2 separate regions of the Homo sapiens genome follow, and region 2 is linked to region 1. The links are contacts of gene promoters, found by promoter capture Hi-C in human tissues and cell types (Jung and others, 2019). All regions are on one chromosome and are shown on one strand. The core of a region is centred on a gene start or on the middle of the fragment in contact, and the rest is flanking DNA. Distances in the headings are between cores, read along the strand shown.

What was found. Contacts are between HindIII fragments. The study calls those that stand out against the background at their distance.
Region 2: a contact is called between the fragment with the promoter of CDK11B here and the fragment with the promoter of CALML6 in region 1, in 2 of the 25 tissues and cell types used here (liver and spleen).

What each region holds. Positions count from the first base shown.
Region 1 is chr1:1,913,618-1,917,489 of GRCh38, reverse strand. It overlaps CALML6 (calmodulin like 6), which reads right to left and starts at 2,230. Exons shown (of 6, transcript NM_138705.4): 1 at 2,183-2,230; 2 at 1,755-1,805; 3 at 875-1,049; 4 at 594-738; 5 at 416-516; 6 at 194-343. The coding sequence starts at 2,209. The coding sequence ends at 297. RefSeq lists an enhancer at 2,723-3,409. The HindIII fragment of the contact is 17,409 bases long and covers 1-3,872 here.
Region 2 is chr1:1,657,754-1,661,625 of GRCh38, reverse strand. CDK11B (cyclin dependent kinase 11B) reads left to right here and starts at 2,622. Exons shown (of 20, transcript NM_033486.3): 1 at 2,622-2,712. SLC35E2B (solute carrier family 35 member E2B) reads left to right here. Exons shown (of 10, transcript NM_001290264.2): 10 at 1-148. RefSeq lists enhancers at 2,236-2,515, 2,536-2,625, 2,057-2,779. The HindIII fragment of the contact is 36,520 bases long and covers 1-3,872 here.

The DNA of each region.
Region 1 (3,872 bases), core at 981-3,480:
CGGCCTGTACCCAGTCCAGGTTTCAGGCTGGCATTCCTAGCCCTGAGCTGGGCAATGGGTGGTGTCAGGTGTCGTGGCAGAAATGACTGGGGCTGTTTCTGTGACTGGGCCAGGAAAACTCTTTTCCTTCTCCAGCCCCACGCCTTTGCCTGTTGCCCCCCAACCCAGGCTGGGACAGTGAGGCACACACAGGTTGGGCTGGAACATTTATTTTACACGGAGCCGGGGGAGTGGGGGCCAGGGGGCAGGGGCAGCAGCCTTCCCGGGCAGGCCTCCCCCGGCTGCGGCAGCTGCACCTACTGGATCAGCTTGAAGGACTCCCCCGTCATCATGGCCACAAACTCTGGGAACAGAGGGGCAGGTCAGCAGCTTGCCCCGGCCCAGCCAACGGCTCCCAGGGCTCCAGGCCACTCACCCTCATAGTCGATGGTCCTGTCCCCATCCTTGTCGGCCTCCTTCATCATCTGCTCCGCCTCCACCTCGTTGAGGGGCTCCCCTGCGTTCATTAGCACGTACCTACGGGGCCTGGCGCTGAGCCACTCCATCGGCCCTGCCCGTGCCCGCCCACCACCCGCCCCCAACCCGGGCCCTACTTGAGTGTGTTCCAGTCAATGTAGCCCTTGCCCTCTTTGTCAAAGACACGGAATGCCGCCCTCAGCTCGCTCTCCTGGTTCTGGGCCTTCTCATGGTAAACTCCCATTAGTGCCAGGAAACCATCGCAGTTGAAGAACCCTTTGTCTGCAAGGGGCACAGCTGGGGCTCAAGGGATGGGGCACAGCACTCCCCATGGGCTTTGCCTCTTCCCCCCGTAGGCACTGACACCTGACCCAGGGCCCCCCCGAGGCTGCCCACCCCACTCCAGCCATGAGCTCACTGTCTCTGTCCACATCCTTGGCCATTGAGGCCAGCTCACTCTTGGTGGGGTTGATACCCAGCAGGCTCATGAGCCACTCCAGCTCCCCCGTCTTCACCTCCCCGTTGCCCTCTTCGTCGAACATCTCAAAGACTCCCTTGTACTCCTTGATCTGCTCAGCCGACAGGCGCTCTGTCTGCAGGGGACACCCGCACCGGCCTGACCAGGAGCCCCTTCTGCCCCTGTGTCCAGGGAAGGGTCAGAGGTACCCCCTGCACCCATTCCTCCATTGGCAGCCTTTCAAGGTGAGTGGTAAGAGAGGAGGCCCCCAGCGGAGAGCAGGCTTCCAGGACAAGGGGTCACACGCCAGGGGTTTGCAGGGCCAGCAGGGCTCTGCCAGGCAGCTAACAGGGGCAAGGGCCAGACAGGCAGGAGCCAGCGTGCGAGGGAACAGCAGCAGCTGCAGGGCCAGGCGGGCCAGGCAGCGGCCCTGGAGCCTGGCAATGGACACCAGGTGAGGCAGGTGAAGGAAGCCGAGAGCAGGGTGGGGAGGAGCCCAGCCCTGGCCCGGGAAAGGCTTCCAGCCCAGGATTGGGATACAGCCCAGGAAGCAGAACCCTGGGCTCCAGCCTGTGTGGCATTCCGGAGGGAGAGTCCAGCACCGGGCCACACCTGCCTGCCACCACTGCTGCTGCCCATCTGGGAGCCAGCTTTCAGAAAGGGCTGCTCCACCCTGGCCCCGGAACAAGGGCTGTGTTGGTGGCAGCAGGGCTTGGCCCCCTCTTCTACCTCAGCCCCTTCCTGCCCAGGCTCCGTGGCAGGTCATTGCACCTCCAGGTTCCAGCTCAACCTACCCAGCCAGCCCACCAGAGACTCCATCGGGCACAGAGAGCAGCCTTACCATGTCGGTGGTTGTCTGACAGGATTCTGCAGGGTGGTGACACCAGGGCTGCTGTGGGCAGAGTGCTGGGGCAGTGGTGGCAGCTGAGTTTTAGCTGGGCCTGGCTGCCTGGGGTCCCCGGGGTCCAGATTCCAAGAGCCTTTTATGGGTGGGAAATCCTGCCGGCCCTATTTTGGGACAGGCTCTCGGCCTTATCCACAGGGCCCCTTCCCGGCCCGCTTTGGCCTGGGCTTCCCCTGACCCTGAAGATGGGCACCGAAGGCTAAGTGCGGGGGCCAGGAAAGGGCTGAGACATGGCGGGACCCTCACACACGCTGTTCCCCGTGCTGTTCCCTCTTCACTGGACCAAGCTCCAAGTCTACCTTCCCAGAGGTGCGGCCCTCCAGCAGGTCTTCATGGGACCCTGGTCCCATGCTGTCATCACTTACCAGTGAGATTTCTTGTTGAAGACCCATCCTGGCCAGCTGGTGCTCAGTGGCTCAGAGCCTGGCCACCCTCCCATCCTGGTGGACTCAACATTGGCCCCGTGCCAGCATGTCACAAACTCTCAGGACAGGTCGAATGAACAAATGCATGAGGCACCGCTTGACCATCTTGTACAGGAGGGGCTGAGGGTCCACCATTCAGGGAGGAGACAGCAGGACATGGGCTGGGGGTGAAGGGGGAAAGGGAGCAAAACAGGGCCTGGGGGCTGGGCTGCCCGCTGGAAGCCAGGCACAGTTGGGGGCTATTTTGGGGTTTCTCAGGGAAACCTGATCTCCCTTCCACTCAGAACAGCAAAGCTGGCTCCCGAGGGGGCCTGGTGCCCAGGCTGGTCCGTATCAACATGCCACCGTGGAGCACACGCCTGCACACGTGTGTTCCCTCCTCAGACCCGCACTGAGCCCTCCCTGTCTGGGTCTAATTACCCACCAGACTCCCAAAGCCAGGGTCCAGCTCCTCCCTGCCCCACCCAGGCAAGAGTGTGAGGATTGCAGTGGCAGGTCAGGGCCCTCAGGGTCACACTCACACCTGCCCCCCGACTGGCCCCTTGATGGCATGAAGAGTCTGAGCAGGTGGGGCACTCAGTGTCCCCCGCCAGCCCAACCCTCTGCCTGCCAGCAAACCTGCAGCTACAGGATGGCTCCCGCTGAAACCCAGGCCAGCTGCTGAGACTGCAAGATTGACGCTGACGAGGGCAGGCCAATGGCCCAGGGCACCTCCAGCCAAACGGGAGCCGGGGCTGGAGGGAAGCGGCCCTGGGTCTGGTGGGGCCAAGGGAGGCCCTGACCTTCATCCTGGCTGCTCCCTGGCCTCAGCTTTCCCCTGGGCTGGGGCAGGGAACAATTCACGCACTGAGCACCTTCCCCCAGGGGCATAGAATGGAGGGAGCCGCAGCACCCAGGCCAGGGCCCATCCTGGGTTCTGGCTCAGGGTCTCCAGGTACAGGCCAGCTGGGTACAGAGACACAGAGAACTGCACTGGCCTCGTGGCCCTGGACAAGTCCCCACCCCAACAACTCTCACAGCCAGTGGACAGCAGGCTCTGCCTCCTCCGTTCCCAGGCTTCCAGCGTCTGACATTCCTGGGCCACAGCCCTGAAGGTTCCAGACATCCTGATGGGCTTACGAGTGAAACTCAAAGCTGTGACCCCTGGAGCCCAACTTAAAGCAGAGGGCACACCCCCCGCCCCGCCCGTAGGAAGGGGCAACATGGCCACAACCACCATCAACCTCTCTCCTCTCCATCTAGGCTTCTACCCATATCCAAGACCCAGTACAAGCAGCAGAACAGGTCCTCGCCCTCTAACCCTCTCTCCTCATGCTGACCAGCCTCTGTGTGGCCTTCGGACATACCCCGTATCTCTAGGACCTGAGACTCATCCAATCTTTATTTTCCTTCTTGTGTCTCTTCTGATCACCGAAGGGCTATTCTCCATAAGAAAACAGAAAAAGAGGCTGGGCACGGTGGCTCACGCCTGTAATCCCAGCACTTTGGGAGGCTGAGGCGGGCAGATCACGAGGTCAGGAGATCGAGACCATCCTGGCTAACACAGTGAAACCCCGACTGTACTAAAAAAAATACAAAAAAATTAGCCAGGCGTGGTGGTAGACACCTGTAGTCCCAGCTTCTCCGGAGG
Region 2 (3,872 bases), core at 1,373-3,872, 260 kb after region 1:
TCACTGTTGATTCTGCTGTGGTGGTAAGTTGATACCGTGTAACTAATCCCGTGGATGCCTCCTCGTTATTTTTGTCCAAACGAAGCAGCCGTGGTAGTAGCTGTCTATGATTCTTGCTCAGCAAAGTAAAATAAATGTTAAATATGGACTGCTTTGTTTTCTTCCTTGTGGAACTCTGGTGTTCATGCTACTTTGTTCACCGGTGGGGCTGGCTGTTGCTAGCAAAGAGGCTCTTCACAGAAGTGGCTGAACCCAAAGTTCTGGTTGGGAAAGGCCTTTGTGGCAGCTCCTATCAAGCGCAAGTGCGAGGCCACCCCCTCCTCGTGGGCTCTGGGGTCGATTTTGTTAGGGTTTGACATGAGTGGCTGCATTTGGGTACTCACAGATTTCACAAAGGAAGGGTAAACTGGAGATTTTTGGCCGGGCACGGTGGCTCATGACTATAATTTCAGCACTGTGGGAGGCTGGTGGGCAGATACTTTAGGTCAGGAGTTCAAGACCAGCCTGGCCAACATGGCAAAATCCTGTCGCTACTAAAAATACAAAAGTTAGCCAGGTGTGGTGGCGCACGCCTATAATCCCAGCTACTCGGGAGGCTGAGGCAGGAGAATCACTTGTACCCAGGAGGCGGAGGCTGCAGTTACCCAAAATTGTGCCACTGCACTCCAGCCTGGGTGACACAGCGAGACTTTTTCTCAAAACAGAAAAAAACGTGCTGTGGCTCACGCCTGTAATCCCAACCCTTTGGGAGGCCAAGGCAGGCAGATCACAAGGTCATGAGATCAAGACCATCCTGGCTAATACAGTGAAACCCCATCTCAACTAAAAACACAAAAAAATTAGCCGGGCGTAGTGGTGGACGCCTGTAGTCCCAGCTACTCGGGAGGCTGAGGCTCGCAGGATAATGGCGTTGAACCCGGGAGGTGGGGCTTGCAGTGAGCCGAGATTGCGCCACTGCACTCCAGCCTGGGCGACAGAGCAAGACTCCGTCTCAAAAAAAAATAAAAATAAAAAAATAGGGAGATTTCCCCAGTTACCAAGAACTCAGGAAGCAACATTAAGAGCTTGGGGGAGGCCAGGCGCGGTGGCTCACGCCTGTAATCCCAGCACTTTGGGAGGCAGAGGCAGGCTGATCACGAGGTCAGGAGATTGAGACCATCCTGGCTAACACGGTAAAACCCCGTCTCTACCCAAAATAAAAAAAAAATTAGCCGGGCATGGTGGCAGGCGCCTGTAGTCACAGGTACTCAGGAGCCTAATGCGGGCGAATGGAGTGGAGGCGGGAGAATGGCGTGAACCCGGGTGGCGGAGCTTCCAGTGACCCGAGATCGCGCCACTGCACTCCAGCCTGGGCAACAGAGCGAGACTCCGTCTCAAAAAAATAAAAATAAAAAAAGAGCTTGGGTACACAAAGCAAGCAGCATTTCATTCCGGGATGAAAAAAATTCCGATACCCATCGCCCTTCTTGGGCCCTTGTCAGTTTCTTGCCACATCTTTCATTTTCCCATTTCAGGCCCAGTAAATGCGGATGTTTATCTTCCATTGTTTGTTTCCTGAGATTCAGATGTCTAAAGCATTTTTCTGTGACTTTTCAAGTCAAGAGGAAAACCTGACATATGGAAAGGGAATTAATTGCTCGTTTTATCCTCTTCTCCTGCAATGCTCTGAATCCATGGGTTTGGAGTGGGGCCCTGGGAGTTGGGGGAAGCACCATACCCAGTGAGTCTGCACTTTGAGGACCCACTGCCAGTGTCAGCTTCAAAATCACATTGTAAAAGGCCGGGCGCGGTGGCTCACGCCTGTAATCCCAGCACTTTAGGAGGACGAAGCGGGCGGATCACTTGAGGTCAGGAGTTCGAGACCAGCCTGGCCAATATGGCGAAACCTCGTCTCTACCAAAAATATAAAAATTAGCCGGGCGTGGTGGCGCGGGCCTGTGGTTCCAGCTACTCGGGAGGCTGAGGCAGGAAAATTCCTTGAACCCGGGAGGAGGCTGCAGTGAGCCAAGACCACGCCACTGCACTCCAACCTGGGCGGCAGAGCAAGGCTCCGACTCAAAAGTAAATACATGAATAAATAAAATAAAATCACATCGTAAGAGCTCTCCCTGCCCTGTTTCTGAGTAAGGTTCAGAGTTAAATTCCGAGATCGGCCTTTACAAGACACACAGACCTGAGGCGCCTCACGAGGTAACCAGCAGGTAAATGGAGCGCGCTCCACCCACCCGCCACTAGGGGTCCCAGCGGTCAAGGGGGTGGAATGCGGGCGTCCATCGCGAAGGCATTCTGCTCGCAAGCCTTGGCACAGGCGCGGGCTTCGCTACCGGAAAAGTCCCGGTAGGATTCCGGAAGCCGGCCACGCGTTCCGCGCAGGCGCAAACTGCTCCAAAAGTGGGCGTCGCTCCTCCGGAGTCCCGATTCCTGCGTCACAGCCCGCGCCGAAGTCGGAAGTGCGCTCACCGGGCTGTTTCTTCTGGCGTCCTGGACCTGAGCAAGCGCTGTTTTATGCGTTATCATCCCGCGCAGACACAGGAAGTGCCGCACAGAGCGAGCCCCTGTCGTTGTCTCGAGTTCTGGGCCGGAGGTCGGCTATTATATCATCATTACGCGCCAATACAGGAAGTGACGATACTTTTGGCGCGCGCCGGTTGCTGTTTCTTCTCTGGCTCCGGGACCGGCGGCGGCGGCGGCGGCAGCGGCGGCGGCGTAGGGGTGAGTTCCGACTGGGCGGACCAGGTGTGGGAGCGCGAGGAGAACTGCGCACCGAGGTCTTTCTTCCGAGCAGGCCTCGGAGCGGGGCGGACCCGGGCCCGGGGGCGAGCGACACCCTCGCTTCCGCGGACAGTCTCATCCCGCACGGAACTTTGGGTGGTGGAGGCGGCGGGTCCAAACGCTGTCTGGAGCCAACGTCTGCCAGGCTGAACCTCAAGTGTGCGGGACTGAACCCGAGGAAATAGCCCAGTGCCCGGGTCAGGTGGCCTTGTTCGCGAGCACATCTCGGAGCATCTCCCCGGTCTCAAGGTGCAGCTGTCCAGTGTGCTAGTGGCTTCACGTAGTCCAAGCGGTCTTTCTAGCAGATTCTGACAGTAAAAGCAGTGTTTGATGAGTGGCAGGTCCTGAGTTAAGAGCCTTTAAACGGATGATCTTTAATCCGCGATCGATACTATCACGTAGGTGTTGTTATTCTGGTTGTACGGAAGACTAAACTGAGGTGAATTACGTTACCCAAGACCATACAAGAATGACAGAAACGAGACTTGATTTCAAGCGGTCATTTTTCAGAACCCATCACTCTTTTTTGTCGCCCATGCTGCAGCGCAGTGGCTGTTCACAAGCGCACTTCAGCCTGGAACTCCTGGGCTCAATCGGTCTCCCATCTCAGCTTGCAGAGTATATGGGACTACAGGCGCTCGCCACCTTGCCTGGCTTACAACTTATCATTCTTGTTTTTTTTTCTTTTTTTTTTGAGACGGGGTCTTGCTGGAGTGCAGTGACGCGACCTCGGCTCACCGGAACCTCCGCCTTTCGGATTCAAGCGATTCTGCTGCCTCGGCCTCCCGAGTAGCTGGGATTACAGGCACCCGCCACCACGCCCAGCTAAGTTTTGTATTTTTAGTGGAGACAGGGTTTTCGCCGTGTTGGCCAGGCTGGTCTTGACCTCCTGACCTTGTGATCCACCCGCCTCAGCCTAGAGCTTACTTTTTTTTTTTTTTTTTTTTTTTTAACCAAGTCTTACTTTGTTATCTAGGCTGGAGTGCAGTGGCGCAGTCTTGGCTCATTGCAGCCTTGACCTCTCTGATTCAAGTGATCCTCCTGCCTCTAGCAGCCTCCTTCCTGTAGCTAGGAATACAGGCACGCGCCACCACACTGGG